5 separate regions of the Homo sapiens genome follow, and all the other regions are linked to region 3. The links are contacts of gene promoters, found by promoter capture Hi-C in blood cells and fetal thymus (Javierre and others, 2016). All regions are on one chromosome and are shown on one strand. Each heading gives the region's core, a stretch centred on a gene start or on the middle of the fragment in contact. The rest is flanking DNA. Distances are from core to core; before and after follow the strand shown. Region 1 overlaps IKBKE (inhibitor of nuclear factor kappa B kinase subunit epsilon). Region 2 overlaps EIF2D (eukaryotic translation initiation factor 2D). Region 3 holds the start of IL24 (interleukin 24). Region 4 overlaps RASSF5 (Ras association domain family member 5). Region 5 overlaps SRGAP2 (SLIT-ROBO Rho GTPase activating protein 2).

Evidence for each region. Contacts are between HindIII fragments. The CHiCAGO score rates a contact against its expected background, and 5 or more counts as called.
Region 1: a fragment that was not itself captured here is called in contact with the fragment with the promoter of IL24 in region 3 in 2 of 17 cell types (activated CD4 T cells and total CD8 T cells); the score reaches 6.2 in activated CD4 T cells.
Region 2: a contact is called between a fragment that was not itself captured here and the fragment with the promoter of IL24 in region 3, in 1 of 17 cell types (activated CD4 T cells). The highest score is 6.1, in activated CD4 T cells.
Region 4: a contact is called between a fragment that was not itself captured here and the fragment with the promoter of IL24 in region 3, in 2 of 17 cell types (non-activated CD4 T cells and activated CD4 T cells). The highest score is 6.2, in non-activated CD4 T cells.
Region 5: a contact is called between a fragment that was not itself captured here and the fragment with the promoter of IL24 in region 3, in 1 of 17 cell types (activated CD4 T cells). The highest score is 5.2, in activated CD4 T cells.

What each region holds. Positions count from the first base shown.
Region 1 is chr1:206,487,701-206,492,231 of GRCh38, forward strand. It overlaps IKBKE (inhibitor of nuclear factor kappa B kinase subunit epsilon), which reads left to right. Exons shown (of 22, transcript NM_014002.4): 16 at 214-290; 17 at 3,119-3,158; 18 at 3,948-4,049. It overlaps IKBKE-AS1 (IKBKE antisense RNA 1), which reads right to left. Exons shown (of 2, transcript NR_172918.1): 2 at 3,416-4,531. Among named protein-coding and RNA genes, the nearest start is that of IKBKE-AS1, 7.8 kb to the right of the region's middle. The HindIII fragment of the contact is 1,057 bases long and covers 2,624-3,680 here.
Region 2 is chr1:206,597,341-206,602,014 of GRCh38, forward strand. It overlaps EIF2D (eukaryotic translation initiation factor 2D), which reads right to left. Exons shown (of 15, transcript NM_006893.3): 8 at 2,923-2,968; 9 at 2,393-2,496; 10 at 2,123-2,272; 11 at 1,663-1,752. Among named protein-coding and RNA genes, the nearest start is that of EIF2D, 13 kb to the right of the region's middle. RefSeq lists an enhancer at 4,547-4,674. The HindIII fragment of the contact is 1,428 bases long and covers 1,379-2,806 here.
Region 3 is chr1:206,894,526-206,899,045 of GRCh38, forward strand. IL24 (interleukin 24) reads left to right here and starts at 2,918. Exons shown (of 7, transcript NM_006850.3): 1 at 2,918-3,090; 2 at 3,206-3,351. The coding sequence starts at 3,308. LOC105372879 (a long non-coding RNA gene) reads right to left here and starts at 1,593. Exons shown (of 2, transcript XR_007066836.1): 1 at 1,469-1,593. The HindIII fragment of the contact is 4,835 bases long and covers 725-4,520 here.
Region 4 is chr1:206,562,663-206,567,074 of GRCh38, forward strand. The region is part of intron 2 of RASSF5 (Ras association domain family member 5); the gene reads left to right. Among named protein-coding and RNA genes, the nearest start is that of EIF2D, 48 kb to the right of the region's middle. The HindIII fragment of the contact is 3,892 bases long and covers 456-4,347 here.
Region 5 is chr1:206,454,188-206,458,659 of GRCh38, forward strand. It overlaps SRGAP2 (SLIT-ROBO Rho GTPase activating protein 2), which reads left to right. Exons shown (of 23, transcript NM_015326.5): 21 at 691-837; 22 at 4,436-4,472. Among named protein-coding and RNA genes, the nearest start is that of IKBKE, 14 kb to the right of the region's middle. RefSeq lists an enhancer at 490-1,161. The HindIII fragment of the contact is 257 bases long and covers 1,145-1,401 here.

The DNA.
Region 1 (4,531 bases), core at 1,902-4,401, 410 kb before region 3:
AGAATAAGCCATGAGAACGAGAGACGGCTGGCTGACTGTACGGGGTCTCAAATAAGCCTAGAGACGGGACAGCCACCTCCACTCCCAGACTGATCCCCCAAAACTGTGGCTGTGAGGCTCCTCCCCTATTCCACTGCCACCCTTCCCCTCCCTCCCTCTTTCCTCTGTGCTATTAGATTCTTCCAACACCTGGTCCCTGTCTCCTGCCCACAGCATCCAGCAGATTCAGTGCTGTTTGGACAAGATGAACTTCATCTACAAACAGTTCAAGAAGTCTAGGATGAGGCCAGGTGAGCCCGGGGAGGGCAGATGCCCCTTCTCTCTCCTCTGTCTCCCTTCTTTCGCCTTTCTTCCTTTTCACTGGTGCTACCAGTGGCCACTAACCTCCAGCTAAGTGGCCGCTAACCTCCAGCTGGTGGTTCTTGGAGGCCCACTAAGCGGATGGTTCTGTGCAGCTGCTCTAGGGGCAAGGCCCCTGTCTGCAAGCTGCCTGCAGGCCAGTGGGGGACATGAAACCTTTACATGCCTGCCTGTTGCCACATGAGAGACTTGGATCACATGGTTGGGGGATCCAGTGGGCCGGGACCTGGGTGCTGTAGGAGAGGTGGTCCTGGAAAGAGATCTCGCACCTTGGCAGGGCACTTTAAAGTATAGAATGTCACTATCCGTTGTGTCCTTGGGACACTGAGACAGTCAGGTTTTCCAGAAAAGGGGGGGTCAGGAGAAGTCCCATTTTGAGTCACTGGGTCAGGCATTTTGGCTGCTTGATCCATTAATCCTCACAAGGATGCTGTGGCAGGGGCAGCCCATTTACAGGCTCGGGGGTGGGAAGCTGCTTGTCCAAAGTGACTGCCATTGTGGGGTAGTGCAAGGGTGGGACCCAGGGAGGGCTGGTGAGGGGGTTGGAGGGAGCCTGCGGAGGCTCCAGTTGACTCCTCAGGTTGGGGAACTAACACACCAGGAACCAAACCTCCCCCTCCTCTCCCAGGCCCCAAGCATTTCCTAATCTGTAGGCTGAAGGTCTTGGGCTTTATTGCCAAATTCTCTTCTCTCCTTGGGATTATCTAAAAACCACTGTCCAATAGAAATATAATGCCAGACACGTATGTAATTCTAAGTCTTCTAGTAGCCAATTTTTAAAAAGTAGAAAGAAACAAGTGAAATTAATTTTAATGTGTTATTCAACCCAATATATCCAGTGTCATTTTAGCGTGTAATCAATATAAACAAAATCACTAAGGAAATACCTTATATTCTTTTTGTGTTATCTTCAAAATCCCACGTGTATATATACACATAAATATATAACTTATTTCCTTAGCAATTCTGTTTATATTGATTACATGCTAATATATATATTTGAGACAGGGCCTTTGTCACCCAGGCAGGAGTACAATGGCATGATCACTGCTCACTGTCGCCTCAACCTCCTGGGCTCAAGCCATCCTCCCATCTCAGGCTCCTGACTAGCTGGGACTACAGGATGCTTTCCCATCACTTCATTGTTTTATATTTCACATATATATATATAATTCATATATATATTATTCACATATATATATTATTCATATATATATTATTCACATATATATAACATTTATAACACATCTCTATTGGGAAACTAAATTTTATATATGTGTGTATATGTGTGTGTGTGTGTGTGTGTGTGTATATATATATATATATATATATATATATATACACACACACACATACATGGAGCTGTGTGCAGTGGCTCATGTCTGTAATCTCAGCACTTTGGAAAACTGAAGCGGGAGGATCACTTGGGCCCAGGAGTTCAAGACCAGCCTGGGCAACATAGCAAGACCCCGTCTCTACAAAAAATAAACAAAACTAGCTGGACGTGGGCATGCGCCTGTAGTCCTAACTACTTGGGAGGCTGAGGTGGGAGGATCACCTGAGCCTGGGAGCTGGGAGTTCGAGACTGCAGTGAGCTAAGATCACACCACTGCAGCACTCCAGCCAGGGCAAGAGCGAGACCCTGTCTCAAACAACAACAATAACAAAACCTCTAGGCATCATTACCCTCCCCATTTTATAGATGAGAAAACCAAGACACAGAAAGGTTAAGTAGCCCAAGTAATCTAGGTCCAGCTGCTTTTAACTATCCCATTTTACAGCCTCAAAGGAGTTTTACTTCTATTGGTCTTTAAGAGTCCTTTAATAAAATTAAAAATGAACCCCTAACTGTTAAAACCCAGCGTGTTGAAAGATACCATTTTTTAAAATGCCCGGTGGTCTTCAGGCTCTCTCGCATGAGCCTCACGGGACTCCCAAGTGGCACCTGTGATGGATAAGGAGACAGGCTCAGCGAAGTGAAATCACTCGCCTAGTGCCGCCTGCCAACAGGAGGAAGGGCTGAGGTTTGTCCCAGGTCTCTCGGACTGCACACATGCTCTTAGCTGGCCGAGTGCAGGGCCCAGGAGGGGGACTCTGCTATGAGAGGAGTGGGATGGGGAGGCCCTCGAAGTGAACCGCCATCATCATTTCATCTTGGGGCTGCCGCCACCCTGGAGGCCCATTCCTGCGAAGACCAGGAGGGGGCAGCATCTCCCTAGTGCATGAGCCTTAGGGCCCTTCAGGAGGCAGCCAAGGCCATGAAAGCTTCAGCCTTTCTGGCAAAAGTGGCTGGGCAGAGCGGGGAGGTAGAAGGTGGTGGCCTGATTTCTCCAGCTCGTTGCAGGTAGCGCCCATGAACATTCAGGGATGGGACCACCCAGCTGCAGGCATCAGTCACTCTGGGAGGGTGCTGGATAAGGGGCTATGGTTGACCGAGCCTCCTTCTAAGCCCACTTCATCCACCAACTCCCACCTGAAGCATCCCCCACGTCCCCACCCCGGCCCTGCACTGCAGGCTGCCTTCCCCTGGGGCCCTCACACAATTTCCCCATGGCTTCTTGAGGCCCTGGCTTTGTCCTAATCAGCTATTCCGGTGCTAGCTTCACTCCTCTGCCCCTCCTGCTCCGCTGGGCGGTGAGTTCCCGTGAAGCAGCACAGGCTGGGCCGTCTTCATCTTTTAACTGTCTCTCGACCTTTGCTGCACACTGTTTCGTTGACTGATTGAATAGGTGACATCTGTTCTGTCTGTTTCCTCCAGGGCTTGGCTACAACGAGGAGCAGATTCACAAGCTGGATAAGTGAGTGGCCTGTCCTCCGGCAGGTGGGTGGGCAGGAGGGTGGGTGTCCTCAGGGCAGAGCGATTCTCAACGCCAGAGGAGAGGCAGTGAAGGGCCCTGTCCCGGACTGCAGCTGAGCAGAGTTGGGGATAACAGGTTATCTGGGGCCAGGGGAGGGAGTATGCATAGCTTAGTTGGAGGGAGACTTCTCAGATGCAATCTTGAAGTAACTGGATTTACTTCTGGTATGGACAAGACTGTTTGCAGGCTTTTTTTTTCTCTAGTTGTCCTCACTGATGCACCACTTACCACTTCCTGCTTCTGCCCTCTGCCTGAACCTTCCCTGCCTCCCCCCGCTCCTCTGTCTCCCATGTTTCCCGGACACACTCACGTCCAGGAGGCCCTCCCTGATTTAATGGTTATCTGGGAACTCACTCCCCCAGTTCTACAAGCACCCCGACCCCTTTTTGTCTCACACACACACGCACTCACACACCTTCTTTCCACGGCTGCCTCACTTTCCCTTCCCTTTCCTGAGGACTAAGCTTGAGCACATGTGTGTTCCCTGAGGACCCCCTGTGTGTCTCCCACGTCTCCCTGTTGATGTGGGCTTTGCTGGCCACTGCAACCTTCACAATCCAAGTGTGTGACCGTCCTTCCTCCTTTCCCAGAGACATAGCCCTGCTGTGGACGCAGGGCTTGGGCACTTACGACAAGGTGGTGACGGAGACTGACGGAGACTGAGGGATGGTGGGCTTGTGCATAGTGGTTCTGGCAGCTCATCTGCACCTTGGTTCTCTGTCGTTCTAGGGTGAATTTCAGTCATTTAGCCAAAAGACTCCTGCAGGTGTTCCAGGAGGAGTGCGTGCAGAAGTATCAAGCGTCCTTAGTCACACACGGCAAGAGGATGAGGTAACAGCCCCTCCTGAGCTCCTGGAGCCCAGGGCCTGGCCTGGCCCTTCTAGGCTTCAGAGGACCCAGGGCTTTGTGGAGCCCTGAGGCAGAGGGAGGAGTGAGTGAAGGGGTGTGAGCAGAGGAGTGGTTTTCTGTCCCTGGGTGGACCAGGCAGTTGGCTGGGAGATTTCTGTAGCTCAGCTTATTTACTCCTACAACACCTGCCCTATACAGTAGATATCATCACCCTATTTCCTAGGTGAGGAAACTGAGGCTCTGAGAACAGGTCTCCTCTGCACATCACATGGCTAGTAAGTGGCAGACCCAAGACTCGTATGTGGCTCTGCCTGCCTCTACAATCTAGATTCTTCAGGGCTTTTGAGGGGTAAAATCAAATCAAATCTGGATTCTTTCTACCGTTCCACCTGGTTATATTGAGAAGTCTCCTTTAGGAGAACACTAGGTGCCCCTGGGATAAGGACAGTGGCAGTGGCCCTTAA
Region 2 (4,674 bases), core at 843-3,342, 300 kb before region 3:
CTTATGGGTGGGAGATACACGAATGCTTTCCTAGGAAAAGCAGGAGGTGGAAGGGAAAGTGAGATGGGATAAATTTGAAGATCAGGAGCCTTTGCTACTAACTAAGCATGTGACCACAGCTTTCTAAGCTTAGCATCAAAATTGGCTAGTGAGGAAGAAAGAAAGGAAGTGGGGATCTTTAAAATGAAGGTGTTGGCCAGGTGCAGTGGCTCACGCCTGTAATCCCAGCACTTTGGGAGGCTGAGGCGGGAGGATCACCTGAGGTCAAAAGTTCAAGACCAGCCTGGCCAACATGGTAAAACCCCATCTCTACTAAAAATAGGGCCGGGCGCAGTGGCCCACGCCTGTAATCCCAGCACTTTGGGACGCCGAGATGGGTGGATCACTTGAGGTCAGGAGTTCAAGACTAGCCTGGCCAACATGGTGAAACCCCGTCTCTACTAAAAATACAAAAATTAGCCGGGCATGGTGGCGCATCCCTGTAATTCCAGCTACTTGGGAGGCTGAGGCAGGAGAATCGCTTGAACCTGGGAGGCAGAGGTTGCAGTGAGCACAGATTGTACCATTGCACTCCAGCCTGGGCAACAAGAGCAAAACTCTGTCTCAAAAATAAAAATAAAACATAAAATAAAATGAAGGTATTAGATTAGGCTGGTATGTCTCAACTTTTTTATCATGATGATGTTTTTTTAAAGTGAAAAAAAAATTTTTTTTTGAGATGGGGTTTCACTGTATCACCCAGGTTGCAGTGCAGTGGCATCATCATTGCTCACTGCAGCCTCAACCTCTTGGGCTCAAGCGATCCTCCCACCTCAACCTCCCAAGTGGCTGAGACTACAGGCATGCCCTACCATGCCCGGCTAATTTTTGTATTTTTTGTAGCGACAGGGTTTCATCATGCTGCTCAGGTGGGTCTCAAACCCCTGGCCTCAAGCAATCCTCCCACCTCAACCTACAAAAATGTTGGGATTACAGACATAAGCCACAGTGTCCGGCCATTAAAGTAAAAAACAATTAATGGAACTCTCTTCATCTGGTAGTTTACCATCTGTATCTCCTTTTAAGAAAATAATACCATAATGGGTACAAATATACAGTTAGATAGAAGAAATAAGTTTAGTCTTTGAGAGCAGAGTAAGGTGACTGTAGTTAACAACAATGTATTGTGTATGTCAAAATAGCTAGAAAAGAGGACTTACAGTGTTCCCGACACATAGAAATGGTAAATACTCAAGGTGATGATACCCCAAATACCCTGCCTTGATCGTTATACACTCTGTGCATGTAACAAAATACCATGCACCCCATAAATATGTACAAATATCTATCAATAAAAATAAATACCTAAAGCTATGATGACTTCAGTAAATTCTTTGTAAGCTTGCATTTTATTCCTCACAATAGCCAATTAAAGATGATTCATGGGTATTTGTGAGAGAATATTTACTTAGTCGGTAGTCAATGTTGATCGTATACATGGATCTGAACACCCCAGACAATAACTGAGTGTCCACAGCCCATGGTTTGGAAACCACTGATCTTAATTACCTCTAAGATGCTATGGTTTTCTATTCTCCCTCCCAGACATCCTCCCCAAATGTGTCTATGTCTGATAAAGACAAAGACCCAATAAGACAGATCTGGTGCTTCTCATGCACTCACTTTTTGTTGTCTGCATCAACCAGGTCATTTTTCTTGGCGTAGTTAATGACGATCGTTCGGACCTCACTGCCCTCCAGAAAGCTCCCCTTCCTAGGTGAGGAGAAGTGACCCAGGGGTTAGTTCATGCTGTGCCATGAGACAAAAATGCAGATGCCCAGACTCACTCCCTGCTGAGCAGGGAACTTTCCTTAGCTTTCGGCCTCTAGTTTCTTCCCTTTTCCTGACTGAAGTGAGCATGACCATGTGAAGAATAATTACACGCAGAAAAGGGTGAGACCTACTCGTTCATTTAGTCCAGAGGAACTTGCCCAGGGAAGAAGGCTGGAAGCTGGATTTTGGAGAAGGGGAGAACAGGGGCAGAGCAGGTTTTGCCAGTCGCAAAAGAGCACTACTCAGGTTGAGAGGAACTGTAGGCCAGAACACCAAGCAGGCAGAGAAGGGCTGCTCTCCAAAAACTCACTTGTGGCCAGACTCCTGGAAGAGCAGGGTCATGCTGGCTGGGACACAGTAGAGGGGTTTTATATCTGGAGGGTGATAGGGCTGTTCCCTGCTACCCTCCTGGATAGTCTGGGAGGTCGGGGAGGGCTCGGGTATGACGAAAGATGTAATCCTAAAACCCAGCAGAAGGAAAGAAAAAACACATTTTATACTAGCATCTCAGCAATCCCCAGTCCGTGGCCCAGGTGCCCTGGGGCCAGCTGGGCTACAGTGACAGGCCCCCTGCACTCACCTCGGGTGTTTCCAGTCCACAGCCACAATGCTCTCCACCCCTTTGCTCAGCTCCTTCACCTGTATAATCTGCTCCTGCTGCATTTGCTGCAGGAACTTAGAGAGCTAAGGGAGAGAGGGCCAGTGGTAGGGGACTTCATTGATTCCACACACATACTGAGCACCCAGGATGTGCCAGAGTGAGCTAGGCAGGGACTGTGCAGGGATATGAGACAGCCCCTGCCTTCATCAACCAGGAACTGGGAGGCCCCCAACCTGAGGGCCAGGGAGCAAGAAGCTGCTAGAGACTAACCAGTGAGGCCGTTCAGAACTCTAATCAGATATAAAGGGGTCAAAGGAGAAAGGAAAGTGGGTGCCACCAACTGCTTCAGCCCAGGGAGAGTTTCTTTCTTCCCCCTTATACTTGGAGTCAAAAAGCTTAATTCTAGACTGAGCCTGGTAGACAAGGCTTCCCCAGCATCCATCTGGCTTATGTCATATGTGCCCCTACACAACTCTCTGCATGGGTCTGCAAAGAAGATCCTTGCTTACCTTTTTGTAGCTTGACTTCTTTATGTCCAGTTGTCGTCCTTCGGGGCTGATGGCAGATGGAAAAGGCAAATTAAACTAATGAGCAGTCATACTGGGACCTGCCTGACACTGAGAGGAGGGCCTTTTTCCTCAGCCTTCCTCCCCCACCTTCAGAGAGAGGCCACTGTGCCAGAACTCTCTGCCCAGGGATGACAGCAGAGAGGGATGCAGACTATGGGACATTCTAAATCAGTGCTGTTCAAGAGAACTTTCCATAGACGTGGAATGTTCTCTGTGTTGTCTAACAGGGCAGCCATTAGCCACATGTGGGTAGTAAGTACTTGAAGTGTGACTAATGTGACCAAGGGAACTGAATTTTAAATTTTATTTACTTTAAATTAATTTAAACTGAAAATAGCGACATGTGGCCAGTGGCTACCACATTGGATACAGCCTTAGATTCCTCCCAGACCAGACAACCTTCTGTGGCCTCCAAAGTTGCAACAGCAAACTCACACTGTGGGCAGCCAGGCCTGGAGTGGGGCCCAGCAAGCCGCATCCTGGGGTCAGGTCTGGCCAACTAATTATCTACTGTCTATGGTCACATTAGTGCTACAATGGCAGCATCGAGCAGTTGCAACAGAGATGGTGTGGCCTGCAAAACTGAAAATATTCATATTTACTATCTGGCCCTTTACAGAAAAACATGCTGACCCCTGCACTACAGCAATTAGTTTTGGAGAGAACATTCCTGATAAAAGCTTACATCTTCTCTCAAAACATGACACGCAATAGCAGTGGATTCTCGAGGAGTCCTTCTAGAATCCACCCCAGAATCCTATCCTACAGAATATTCTGGGGCCCCTTTACCATATATTTGCAACCCAAGAAAGTCAGAACAGATTACCAAGTATCCCTCCACACACTCCAGACACCACATTTGTACAGGATAGCTTAAAGACACCCAAGTATAAATGGGAAGACATTACATTAAGAATCACTTTTTTAAAAAACCACAGCCAGATTCTCAAAAAGAAATAAATTCAGGCCGGACACAGTGGCTCACGCCTGTAATCCCAGCACTACGGGAGGCCGAGGCAGGCGGATCACTTGAGGTTAGGAGTTCAAAACCAGCCTGGGCAACATGGTGATACCCCATCTTTACTAAAAATACAAAAATTAGCTGCACATGGTGGCATGTGCCTGTAATCCCAGCTACTCGGGAAGGCTGAGGCAGGAGAATCTCTTGAACCTGGGAGGCAGGGGTTGCAGTGAGCCGAGATCACGCCACTGTACTCCAGCCTGGGTGACAGAGTGAAACTGTGTCTCAAAACAAAAAATAAATAAATAAATAAATTCAATCTCAGGGTAAAAATCAATAAGCAAACCTCCTGACATGATAGTATTTACTGAATGCTTATTATGGTTCAGGCTATGTAATCTTTACAGCAATCCCATGATTATTAGAAATTAGGACTCAGAGAAGCCCAGTAACAAGCTAAAATGCACATTGCTTGAACACCCTGGAGACCTAGCAGTTGAGTACAGACAGCTCTGTCTTCAAAATCCAGGTTCTATCCACACGCAATAATACCACTCCTGATGGCTTGTGTTTTGGATGGGGTGGGCCGGGACGGGGGGTGTTCACACCAATTCTTCCTCCTAATAAAACCTAATGTGGCCCCCCACATACTTTTCAGAAGTGTGAGGAGGTTGAATGTTCCAGAAGAAGATTCCTGACAAAGAGGCTGCCCTGGGACACTTCCTGCAGAG
Region 3 (4,520 bases), core at 1,668-4,167:
GTATGAAGTCACCTTATTTAGATCCCCTAAACCAGTCCTTCCTCCCTTCATCTGGAGCTCTTGTTTATTAAACATTTACCATGGAGAAGACACTGAATTAAATCTTTCATGCGTTTTATGCTGATGGTTCTCAAAATTTAATGAACATAAGCATCACCTTGGAAGGTTCTTAAACTACATATTCTAATTCAGTCATTTTTTCGGGGAAGGGCTTGAGATTCTACTTTACTTTTATTTATTTTTTTCGAGACAGGGTCTTGCTCTGTCACCCAGGGTGTAATGCAGTGGCAAGATCATGGCTCACTGCAGCCTTGACCTCCCAGGCTCAAATGATCCTCCTGCCTCAGCTTCCCGAGTAGCTGGGACCACAGGCATGTGCCATCACAACGAACTAATTTTTATTTATTTTTGCAGACAGGGTCTTGCCATGTTGCCTAGGAGGACCTCAAACTCCTGGGCTCAAGCAATCCTCCCACCTTGGCCTCCCAAAGTGCTGGGATTACAGACGTGAGCCACTGTACCCAGCCCAAGATTGTACATTTCTAACAAGGTCCCAGATAATGCTATCACTGCTGGCTCATGGGCCACACTTGGTGAGCAAAGCTGCAGGTCATCACATCCTCATGGTCTTATGAGGACTCTATTTCACAAGTGAGGAAGGTGAGCCTCAGAGGGCTCATATGTGGCTCGATCACCTTTTGAACCCAGGTCTGCCTGCCTCCAAAGCTTGTACTCATAACTAGATTCTCAACTGATGTTGGGCCAAGGTTCCTAGGTTCTCTCCTTGACCTTCCTTCTGAAGTAATAATGCTATGATAAGCTCATCGGAGGCTGAGGCCCAGGCACATGTTTGCCTGAACTATCCATGTTATATGATTCCTTCCTCAGACAGAGTGAGCTACTCACGATCCCAGGTGTACCCTGAGGCCAGCCAAGGTGTATCCATGACCTCATGCCTCTGTTCCAGCCTGCCCTTTAACAGCTCATCCCACCTGCCTGCCCTCCCCGCCTATCTGCAGACAGTAGTCTAGGATTTCAGCTGCCCTGGGGGCTCATTTTCCCTCTCAGCTTCCTGCTTTAGCTGTCTCCTGCCTCCCACTCACCTATTACTCCAGCACTCTCACCTGGTCTTCTTTTCTGTCTCATCACTGCCTCTTGACATCTTTATCTCATAGTAGTTAGTTAGGGGTTCTTGGTAATGCCCTAAATCCACATGGTGGGAAGGGGGGAGTGGGGGAAGAGAGTGCGCTGTGGGGCTGTGCCTACTTCTGGAGGGTAAGACTCGGGCCCTCCAGGAACAAAGGATTCAGGCTGGTGGCAGCTATAGCCAAGCAGACTGCTGGCCAGGGATTGCAAAGGAGTATTTTGTTTGCTTAAGAAAATAAACAACACTGAGTATGAGATGGAGGGAGGGGGTGTTGGTGCCAGAGAGATTGGGAAGAGTCTGCCAAGGGTGTGTTCTACTCACTCTCCTCTTTTCTTTCATCTCCACTGAGCTGGAGGCAGTTATCCTGTCCCCCACGTCACATTCCTACTCCCGTTTCCCATGCCTGGACCCAGGTTGGGCAAACTCTTCCTGTAAAGAACCAGACAGGAACTATTTTAGGCTCTGTGTGCCATATGGTCTCAGTCACAACTACTCATCTCTGCCTCTGTAGCACGAAAGCAATTAGCAACAATATGTCAACAAACATATGTGACCCCATGAAAACTTTATTTATTATGGATACGGAAACCTGAAAATAATGTCTTTCTTTTGATTTTTTCCCCAATCATTAAAAAACGTAAAAACTACTCTTAGGTCGCAAGGTTAAGCCATTCTCAGCTTAGCAGTGGCAGGCTGGATTTGGCTTGTGACCTACAGTTGGCCAATCCCTGATTCCCAAAATGTATTCCTCAGGGATGTGGGCAAATACTTATGGGAAATGCTGGATTAAACAGAGTTAAGAAGCATCAGACATTTCCAGGACGGGCTAGCACATGCCAGGGCTCTCTAACTGACCTCATTAGGATTCATCTGTTTCATGGAGGATCTTGCAAGACAAGAATTCCTCAAACCTAGAGTCTGAGGACTGTGCTTTGGGAAACACTGCTCTGCTTGATGCCCTCACTGGGCACATGGTAGAATCTAGAGCTGAGTGCCTTGCTAGCTGGAGATAGGGTCAGAGCTCTTGACTGCCCTGGCAGTCTTGACACATCACGCTGTCTGTGTCCCCTGAGTGGTTCAGAGCCACACAGGCCAAGACTAGCCCACCAGAGCACCAGGCCTCCCAGCTTTCTGGGCTTGTCCATGCGTACATTTCCTTATTCTTCCTGGTTTCCAGAACCTAAGGAGAGGCACATTTTGGTTGAGTGATTATAACCCTAGGGACCATGGGTAGCTGCATGTCAGGAAACACTCCTCAACTTCCTGGCCCTGATGGATTAAAGGAGAGGTACTTACAGGTTATTTCTTCGCTGTGGACTACTGTCCCAGCATGAATAGGGCATCATTATTGAATTATTTTGACAGGAAGGAGACTGGTGTATGCTGCACAGTAATAATGTATTTACATGTGTACAGAGTTTACCAAGCACCTCTGTGTTGTTTTTGCCTCTGTTTATTACACTTGCCCTTGGGGGGAGGTGGGACAAATTTTTTAAAAATTTATACATGCAGAGACTGCAGCGCAGAGAAGCTAAGAGACTTGCCCCTGCCCACACAGCCAGTGGTAGAGCCTGAACTCAAACCCAGGTCTCATCTCACCTCAGGGGCTGCTTTCCCCATCGCTGTATTGTCCTTAAAGTGATGGGTGACTAGGCAATGAAGTAATTCTCTAGGAAAGCATGACCAATTTCCCTTTCTCCACCTCCCTCTTTTTCCTCCACCCCTCCCCCATCAGCCCCCATATATATGCCCAAATCTCCACAAAGCCTTGCTTGCCTGCAAACCTTTACTTCTGAAATGACTTCCACGGCTGGGACGGGAACCTTCCACCCACAGCTATGCCTCTGATTGGTGAATGGTGAAGGTGCCTGTCTAACTTTTCTGTAAAAAGAACCAGCTGCCTCCAGGCAGCCAGCCCTCAAGCATCACTTACAGGACCAGAGGTGAGCATGGGGGATTCTTGGTTACTTTTTTTTGAAGGACTAGACCTCTGCTTTATTTGTGAAAAGGGGTCAAGGTGGGGACAGCAGAAGTCAATTTTTTTGAGTGTTGATGTAGGGACAAGACATGACTGTGATGAGGAGCTGCTTTCGCCAATTTAACACCAAGAAGAATTGAGGCTGCTTGGGAGGAAGGCCAGGAGGAACACGAGACTGAGAGATGAATTTTCAACAGAGGCTGCAAAGCCTGTGGACTTTAGCCAGGTGCGGTGGCTCACACCTGTAATCCCAGAACTTTGGGAGGCTGAGGTGGGCAGATCATTTAAGGTCAGGAGTTCGAGACCAGCCTGGCCAACATGGTGAAACCCTGTCTCTACTAAAAATACAAAAAAAAATTAGTTGGGCATGTGTTTTTGATATTTTCAGATACAAAAATCCCAGCTACTTGGGCGACTGAGGCATGAGCATCACTTGAACCTGGTAGGCAGAGGTTGCAGTGAGCCGAGATCATGCCACTGCACTCCAGCCTGGGTGACAGACTGAAATTCTGTCAAAAAAAAAAAAAAAAAAAAAAGCCTGTGGAGTTTGAAAGAACAGAATGAAAAGACATTGAGGGAGATGCTAAAGCATAGCCCCCGTCCCCCGTGACCCATAACCCAGGGGTCGCCGCCTCCCTAGCCCAGGTACCAGCAGAACCGGGTCTTCTCTGGTCTTCCTCCCGGTGTAGGGGTGGGAGGCAGTTTCTTTAGGTGTCAGACCAGTGCCTGCAGTAAGAAAGGTTCTTAAATGATTGTGTAAAGAAGTACGAAAGAAAGGGAGAAAGTAAGAAAGGGAGGGAGCGAGAGAGGAAAGAAGGAAGAAAGAAAGGTAAGGAGGGAGGGAGGGAGAGAGGGAGGGAAAGGACAAAGGGCAAAGAAGGCAGGGGGAAAGAAATTCTCTGCATCAGTTATAATAAATACATAATGGCGTTAGGTTCCCCAGCTTGGAGGCTCTTCACTCAGTCCTTCCCAACTGGCACTTCAGAGGAAGGCTTTAGAGATGATTCATCTGGAAATCTGATGCCTCTCTCTCATTTGGTTACTAAAAAAAGTGAATTTTTAGACTCAAGAGTGAGTGGTTAGTGGAGGTGGCATAGTCTGTGTGTGACCCTGACCTGCCCTCTGTGCCCCTCCCTGGGACCAGGATTAACCCCTTGCTCCCTTGTGATGAGGAGTGAGGGACAGCCGTCTCCTGGGGAGGAGAAAAAGACCTGCCAGCCTATGTGTGCCTAGTGGCTTCAGGGCAGAACTTGGATAAGCACATGTCTAGTTCAGCTCTTTGTTTTCCTGGGTTTGGGCTCCCCAGACGTGGCACATTAGAACCTCCCATTTCTCCACTCTTCTGGGTCAAATTCTGACTCGCAGGTTGTAGGCTAGAGAGAACTGCGATGGAGA
Region 4 (4,412 bases), core at 1,152-3,651, 330 kb before region 3:
TGGCTCATGCCTGTAATCCCAGCACTTTGGGAGGCCGAGACGGGCGGATCACGAGGTCAGGAGATCCAGACCATCCTGGCTAACCTGGTGAAACCCCATCTCTACTGAAAAATAGAAAAAATTAGCCAGGCGTGGTGGCAGGCTAACTACTTGGGAGGCTGAGGCAGGAGAATGGTGTGAACCCGGGAGGCGGAGCTTGCAGTAAGCCAAGATCGTGCCACTGCACTCCAGCCTGGGCGACAGAACGAGTCTCTGTCTCAAAAAAAAAAAGCCAGTATTGACCAAATACTGCTTGGGTTGAATTGCTGCATCTTCTCTCTTGCATCCTGTACAATCAGGATGGACTAACTTGAAACAACCCCTGCTTTTCAGTCATTGAATATAATCAGAGGTTTATTTCCCCCTTTACTTAAAAAAGTTAGATTGGCAGGTGGGGATCAGGATAACACATGGGAAGCTTGTGGGCCAGACCCGGAAATGGTGGGTGTTTCTTGCAACCACGGGCCATTGGCTGGAACTCAGTCACGTGGCCACACCTAACCACAGGGGAGGTTGGGAAGTGAAGTACAGCTGTGAGCCCTGGTAGAAAAGGAAGCAGGTTGTGGTGAGCATTTAGCTGTCTCTGCCACACATGCCTCCTGCCACCGTTTCTGCGCCAGGCACCTGGGAAGCTCTGCTCATAACTGCTTGGTAAAGGACATGACCTGTTTCTTTGACCTTGTACCTCTCTCTCATCTGTCACTGAGGATATTCTGTTCTTGGGATTGGGTCCTGTCTCCCCCATCTAAACTGGAAATCTCTTGAGGACGGGTGCTTTTCCTCACTCAGCACTTCTCTGGTTTCTCTGTAGCATCTGAAACCTTCAGTGTTGCATCAAGGTGGCCTCAACCACCTGCACCAGAACTACTCTTTGAGAATGGAGTTTCAGGGGCCCTACTCCAGAGCTACTGGCTCCTGAATCTTTGGAGATGGGACCCTGGATTCTGCTTTTCTAATACTTTTCCCAGGTGATTCTCATATATGCTGCAATCTAGGAACCACCTGTTTAGGAAATATTTGGTAATTGACTGCTTACCCCAATTGGAATGCAAGAAGAGAATGTGTCACAGATTCCTAAGAGGTTCCTAGGCTGGAAACTGAAGTCTAGAGAGGGAAGAGGATTTGCCCCCAGTCACACAGCTCAGTAGAGACAGATTCAAGGAGTCAGGCCCCCTGGGTCCTGCTCAGAGCTTTCTCTGCTAGTCTCATCACCACAAGCTGAACTCTTATTTCAAGGCCCTTTGAGATCTTGATGGCACATGATGTAAGGGAAGACACACAGCACTAACTGTAAATGAAGTCCTCCCTTCCCATCCAGCTCAAGCCACTAAGAGGTTATGGCCAAGTCATTTCAATCATCAGACTCAGGTACTTCATCCTGTCCTTCTCAACAAACACCCTTGTCATGTGAGTGTCCTTATCTTCCCTGCTGAGAGTCCCTTGCCTCTTTGCATGGGAACAGACCCTTTTTACTAGTTTCTCATGGGCCTGGTAGGGATTCTAGATATTGGCTGCCAAGTTCTCTAAACCATAAGGACTTCCCCTAGGGAGGGGTCAGAGAGACGACCTCCTCCAGGACCACCTGGAACTCACCCAAGACATCCTTGTTCACACGCCGCTTAGTCCAGGCCATCCCTCACTCTCTGTTCTGGTTCCTCCCCTCCTGCCCTCCTTCTGTCTTCACAGGTTTAGATAGTTTATCCAGAATCAGCTTTTCCCTATAAAGCAATTTCACTTACAGTTTGGGACACATAATATCCACCCACCCAAGCAGTTTAGGGAGAAAAGAAGAAAGATTTTATGCCAGTATCAAACCTTGAATCCCAGGTCTTATTGCACACTGTCAGATCAGGCTTTGGATCCAACTCCCAGCCTAGGAGCTTGAAGGGGTCCTAGCTTGGGGACCTCGATTCTCTTCTCTTCTGCTCTTCACTTACCAGGTACCCCACACCTGTGTATCTTCTGGCTTTGGGAGCTCCCTGGGTGGGGAACTGAGACCTGTCCTGCAGGTCCTTGGTTTCTTCTTCTTCATGGTTTAGTCTACCTCAAAGAGCATGGGGTGGGGATCCAGACCTAGCCTGGCATATTTTCCAGAGACAAGAGGATGAGATAAAGTGCCACGAATCAGGAGCACTTGATTTCAGGGCCAGGAGGAAGAAAAGAGCTGCACTGACAGACAGCTTCAGGCTTGAATTGCTGAGCCTGTGGCTTCTGTTCACAGAAGGCTTCTGTCCTGGGGGCTCATCTCCCCTCTTCTCCCACAGCATCCCAGCTTTAGCTAATCACTCTCCAGCCTACATCCCTCGCCCCACCTCTCTTCCTAGCTCTAGAATGGCATTTTCTACAGCTTCCTGGAGGTCTCAGATACCTTAAATTTAGTATGTCCAGAACCAACTCATAACTCATTTATTTCTCTGTCTCTGCCCCACCCTCCTAGTCCCCCACCTTCAATACCTCAGGGGTCTTCACCTCTTCTATTCACCCCATCTGTCCCCGCAGTGCTGCAGAGGTCAGGCCTCTCCTCTCTGTCCCCGCCTCACCCTGTGTTGGCTGCTCATAGCCTCTCACTGAGATGCCCCAGTAAGTCAGTTACCCTGCAGTTTCAATCCTGTGTTTTCCCCTCTGTGTATCCTGCCTACAACTGCCAAGGGCTTATTTTTCCCATATCCCAAAATTTTCCCAGGTTCCCTTTCCTTCCGGAGTGAAGCCCATACTTGGTTCTCCCTCTTTAGTACAGCGTCCAAACTCTGCAGCACCTGGCCTCAGTCAGAATGTTGTGTTTTTAACTTTCCTATAGCACTGAGCACCACAGGTGGGGGACATAAAGATGGATGAGATGGGGTTTCTGTACTTGAAGGCCTTAGGGCCCCCAGCCCACATTGTGTAACAGACCCTAGCTGCTCCCCTTCCCCATCCATGAAGTGTTTGGATGGAGGCCCTTCCATATCCTAGTGGAAGATGCTCTCAGCAACTGCCTTGCAGCCACATGGCCTTTATCATGACATGGCAGCAACTCCTGAGACAGGGAGGATGGAGGGCCTGACTCCTAGAATCAAAGGGTTTGAACAGGAATTGCCCACGAGGGGCTGGGAACAGGCTGCCAGCAGACACAGTGACAGAGCTGCACCACCACTGAGGAGGATGGAGGGGGATTTACCTCACCTCTGAAAAGCAGAGCCTCCTGGAGCTGGAGGAGATGGTTAGGGGTTATCACAGCCATTCCTCTGTCCCCATGCAGGACTGCACATAACCCATGACAGGCAGGGGAAGGAAGGTCTGTTCATTACCACCATCCTAAGTTAGTTTACCATCTTAGACTAAGTTAATTTACCATCCTAAGCAAGAAAAGCAGGGAGGGAGGCAGCAGAGTGTTCATGCCTGACAGATGTCGCTGGCGGAATTTCTGCTACCATCAAGCCAAAAAGTTGACACATTCTATGAGGTAACATGTGAAAGGGGGTGAGCCAAGGGCAAGGTTGCCAGCCCCCATGCTTGTCCAGCTCTAAAGCACATGCTCATCCCACCACACACACAGCTGAGGGAAGAGTCCAGCTTTGAAAGGCTCCAAATAAGCTCCAGTCACCCCTCTCAAGCTCTGATGTCCTGCCGTAGGAAGCTGTTTTTCTCATTCAGTCAATTTCCTGATGCTGAAATTCAGGCCGTTTTTTCCTGTTCTAGTCTTGGGAAATCTGGGTTACTGTACTTTGTTATCATGATCATCTCATCAGCCTCCAATTCGTGAACCCCTCATTATCCTCCTCATCTCCAGGCTCTCCCCCATGTGGTGAGTGGTGGTGAACTGTTCCCCCCACTTTGCTGTGGATGACATGCAGGAACTGGGTCTGCAGGGCCCTCGCTTTGCAGTGGGGAGCAAGAGGCAGGTCTTCTCACCCCAGAACTGAAGCTCCACCTATCCCCTCCGTTGGCTGGAGCACAGTGAAGAGGCACTTGGCACCTATAATGTCGATGCTCACAATTGGCTGGGAAGGCGTGGGTTCAGGAGGAGAATGTGGGAGCTGGTGATTCCAGAGTGTTAGAGGGCATTTCCAGTTGTAACTCAGATGTCCCCTTCTCTGTGCTCCCCAAACACCTCGCCGCTCTTTCTCTCCTATCTCTCCTTTCAATGGGCTATAATTTTCTGGACCAGGGACCATAGCTTGTTCATCACTGTGTCCCCTGGCACGTGGTAAGTGCTTAATGTGGGTTTGACAGAGGAGGAGTGGGTTTGGAGCTTCTTTCCCAGGGGACATGAGCAAGTACTTTAGGGCAAGGTTTGTGAAAGTTGATCTCAGGACTATTTTAAAGGGAAGCTTGCTAAGATTCTGGATGTGGAATAAATGGATTTTTCCAGTTATCAGGAAATGAAAAATCCC
Region 5 (4,472 bases), core at 23-2,522, 440 kb before region 3:
CTCGTTCTGCAGGGAAATCCTCCCTCTGTTGATAGCATCGCAAACCTGGTGGCAATCTGTGCGTGGACAGGACCCTCCCAAATTTAGCATTATGACTTCACCACAGGATCAAGAGAAGATGAATTGTGGGGGAGAAGGGGCTTTCTTTGTCATCAGTAGCCAGAGGGGCCAGGAGAGCAGTGGAGAGACCTGGGACCGGCTTGGATGCTCTGAGCGGGGCTAGAGGCGCTACGACAGTGTGTGGCGGTGTCCTGCCACGACGCCGCCGTCTCCAGAGCCACCACACAGTTGACTGTCCTTACCCGGCAGTGCTCAGGACCTCAGCCGATAAACCACAACCTGGACTTGCCGCCTCCTTCTCCAGGAGGCCGCCCCAGCACGGCCTCCCCAGGAAGCAGCATGGGGTAGAAGGCAGATGCCTCGAATCCAGGTGTCCCCTAGCCACGCTTTCCTGAGGAGCTGAGGAGCCCGCAGAACTCAGCGGATTATTTATTTTTATTTAAACGACCCTTCAAAGGCCCTTAGGTTTCCTTGCCTCTGCTCACAGAACTAGTCCAGCCAGGTGTCGCTGCTGCCTCAGAGCTGTGTGGGGTCGCGTGTATGTCGGGGGGCCATCTTGCCGATTTAACGCTGCTTTTTGTGTTGTTGTTGTTTTCCCTCCTCCCTGCCTGCCTGCCCCTTCTCCCCCAGCGAGGACGGTGTCGTGGAGAGGTCCAGCCCCAAGTCTGAGATTGAGGTCATTTCTGAGCCACCTGAAGAAAAGGTGACAGCCAGAGCGGGGGCCAGCTGTCCCAGTGGGGGTCATGTAGCCGATATTTATCTTGCAAACATCAACAAGTAAGCTCTGCTTTTCATTTTCTGCTCCCCTGAATGACTTGCAACACCCAGCCTCACCCTCTGGCCTAACCCCCATCTCCATTCCTGTGCTGCACGTAGGGCTCCCAGCTCCCCCAGCCTAACAGTTTGCATGTGGTCATTGCTGCTGCAAGGCGGACAGGGCTGAGGATGCTGCTACAAGCCTCGGGGCAGGTCCAGGTCTCCAGCTAGCTGCCCTCGTGCTGTGGAAGGGTGCTTTACTGTGTGTTCCCGCAGTGTCTGTCCACCCAGACCTTTGTGGCAGTCTTACAGCTAAAACTTTGACCAAAGCTTTGGTCACTTTATGCAACCTGGTTTTGTACTGTTTCTCAGAGGTGCCTTCTTTTTTCCAATCCATACTCAAATAATAGTCTTTGATGTCTGTCTTCCTTGACCCGTGTTCGTGCAAAGATTCAGAGTCTGTGTGTGGCTTCTACTAGGCTGATGTTACACCAGGTGGGTTTATTGAGATATCATGTGTCTGTTCCTCCCCCTGTCCTGCATTCACTCCTGTGGAGGAAAGGAGGCCACGATGTCCCTAAGGAAAGCTTTGTCCTGAGCTCTTCATTCATTGGCTAACCCCTAGCTCCCTTTTCTTCTGCCCTTTCACACCAGGAGAAATAATTTTCCATTTTGTTCCTATTGCTTTGGCCTTTTGTATTATTCTACCCCCTTAGTCCCTTTGCAGATCCCCACTCCTGCTCAGCAGGCTCTTACCTCTGACCCCCAGCTTTCATTGTGGCTGTTAGCAACATCCTGGGGTTTAAACTCCACCCACGCCCGATCTGGCTGTCTAGAGGGATTCTACGCCTGCGTGCTGCCGCCTCCCCAAGAGGCATTCAGGTTATTGGAGAACTAATCTCATCTCAAGGGGCCAGACACCAAGTCCCAAAGCCTACAGACCTCTTTCCGCCAGGCCCTGAAACCTGGCCCCGTGCCAGCAGGATGACAAGCCCCAGGGCGCTCCTGATGAATATGGATTGGAGATGATGTACAGTTTTTATTCCCCTCTGGCTTTTGAGGAATGAAATGATTTGCACTTTGAAAACCTGTTAACCGTAGCCTCTGGACACTGAGACTGGAAGGAGAATAAAGGATGCTTGTTGTTTTTAAACTATACCAGGTTTCCCAGATCTCTTGGCTTTTTTCCACCCAGACGGTAGCAGGGGGAGTGGTTGGGGCACGTGGCTCTTTTCCATCTCTTTCACCCTCAAGTTAGTAAAGTCGTTTATTCAGATCACTTACTCAGTGTAGTTATAATTTAATTCAGACCAGTTAAAAAAAAATTGAGAAGTTTCTGTTTCCCTCCAGCACACTGCCCTGCTGGGAGGGCAAGCCAATATCAAGTAACTGTGGGCTAATCACATTTTTTTCCTTATTTACAATTCTGTGTTAAATTGTAACCCTACAATCAAAAGGTCGTGATCCTATAATTAACTCAGAAACCAAGGCGGGGTTGGTGGAGGAAGAGTTAGATAATTAGTTAAGTACATATTTTTAAGCCATCATATATTTGATGCCATTTGTGCATAGAAATTGTAGAGAGTAATAACTGAAATGGTAAACAGAAGAAGAAAAAAAAAGAGTATCTGTAGACAGTTAAGGTGGTTCCCTTGAACTCCTTGTTTGCTGGTGTCAGGAGTCTTGGGATGGGGTTCTTGGAGGACAAGCCTCATCACCTGGTGGGTGGGTGAGCGGTGGCCCCGGGGCATGTCTGGCCCTTAGAAGTGAGTCGGCCTTTGAGTCTTACCTCCTGCCCCCCACGCCACTCCTCCTCCCAAATTCCTTGAGTTTCCCGAGTGCCCAGGTTCTCTTTCGCCCCTGGGCGCTCACGCCTGCTGTCTCCTCACCTGGTCACCTCCTCATCTCCCTTCAAGACTCAGTCCGAAGACTTAGCTCTTTGGGGAAGCCATTCTGACATCCCTGACTTCCCCAGGCTGAGTGAGGTGCCCTTATGCTGCATTCCAAAGACACTTTGAATACCTTTTGGTACTCACGCTTCACTCAGATCCCCCACCAGATTGAGCTCCTTGAACCCAGGAACTATATCTTCCTTTTCTTTACATCCCCAGGGCCTAGCCTGGGACATGGCACACCACAGCCACCCCATAAATCTGTCTTCTCAGCAGTTTCAGCCCATGAGTCAGCTATCCTCAAGCAGAAAAAGGAAATCAGCAAAGAGCTATTAGGGTGTGGCACTTCCATTTAATTCTACACATTTATTAAGTATCTACTGTTGTGCCAAGCACTGCTGGTGTTTATTCAGAGATAAAAAAGACGAGGTCCCTGATCTCAGAGCTCACAGTCTGGCAAGGTAAAGACCCTATGGACAGGTAACTGACAGGTAGCATCAGATGCTCTGAAGGTACAGAGGAGGGAGGGGTCCATTCTTCCTGCAACTGGAGTTAGTGGTGCAGTGGTGCCAGTGCAGTTGGAGTTAGTGGTGCCAGGGAAATCCTTGCAGAGAGGGGGTTCATTTCAGCAGGGCCTTAGAAGACTCTGAGAACATCCTTTTTCCACTCGAGAGCGGCTGAGTCACAAGCCTAAAACTGCCGAGTGGACAGACTCACGGAGTGACTGATACATGCCAGGTCCTGGGCCAGGCCCTGCAGGCAGAAAGATGAGGAAGACCTCAGCAGTGAACAGGACTAGGACTGGCTTAGAGCACTGTCCCCACCTCACAGACCAGCTCCTTATCTTCAGAGTCTAACCCCTTCCCTCCTTCCACCTCAACTCCTGCCTCAGCCCCCATCTCTCTTAGATTCAAGATCAGAGCTGTTCAGCAGCCATCCAAATCAGAAGTTTCATTGCCTCTTAGATTAGACCTTTTCAGATCTGATTCCAAGACAAAATGAAATTATCCAGCAGCAGGCAACACCCATGTAACTGGGATTCTGCCAAGCCATTTTGTCTGAGAGCCCTAAGTGGTCTGAAACAAATTCGCCCAGATCCAGGGTTCAGCCCAGTGCTGGGTGACTTGGGAGTCATGTAGAGGTATTTCCACACTAAGAAAACGCACAAACTGGGCCCCAACTCTGCAGTGTTGCTGCCTCTTGAAAACTATTCTGCTCCATGCCTACAGAATAAGCAACAACAGCCTCTTGCCAGAGCCCAAAACAGTTACAGTCTTTTTGGAAAAAGAGTCATGCTAAAATTTAGAAAAGTTAACTATCCTCTTACCAGCAATCTTGACCTCTTTGGTGATGGTGAGACTTCTTCTCCTAGCTGGGGCCTTAGGTTTCTGTTCATGGCAGGTCACAGAAGGGGCCTTTCCATGAATCTCTTTCCCATTAGAAACCTTCGCTTAATCAGACATTTTTTCTGACAGCAACTTACATCTTGACAACACAAAGCCCGTGACCACCAAGTAAGTATCCATTTCTCCTTCACCCAGCTTGGGGGTGGCAAGGGAATGAAGACATGGAGAATGCAAGAGAAGATGAAGCCGAGGAGAGAACGAGTTCTGTGTCCCTCTCCTTCCGAAGTCCCTGGGTGCCAACATCTGCCCCCTCCCACTTATCCTAGCTTCCTTGGAGCCAGGGCTCCCTGATCACACTGCCCTTTCTGTTTGTGATTGAAGGCAAAGGAAGCGTCCAGAATCTGGGAGCATCCGGAAA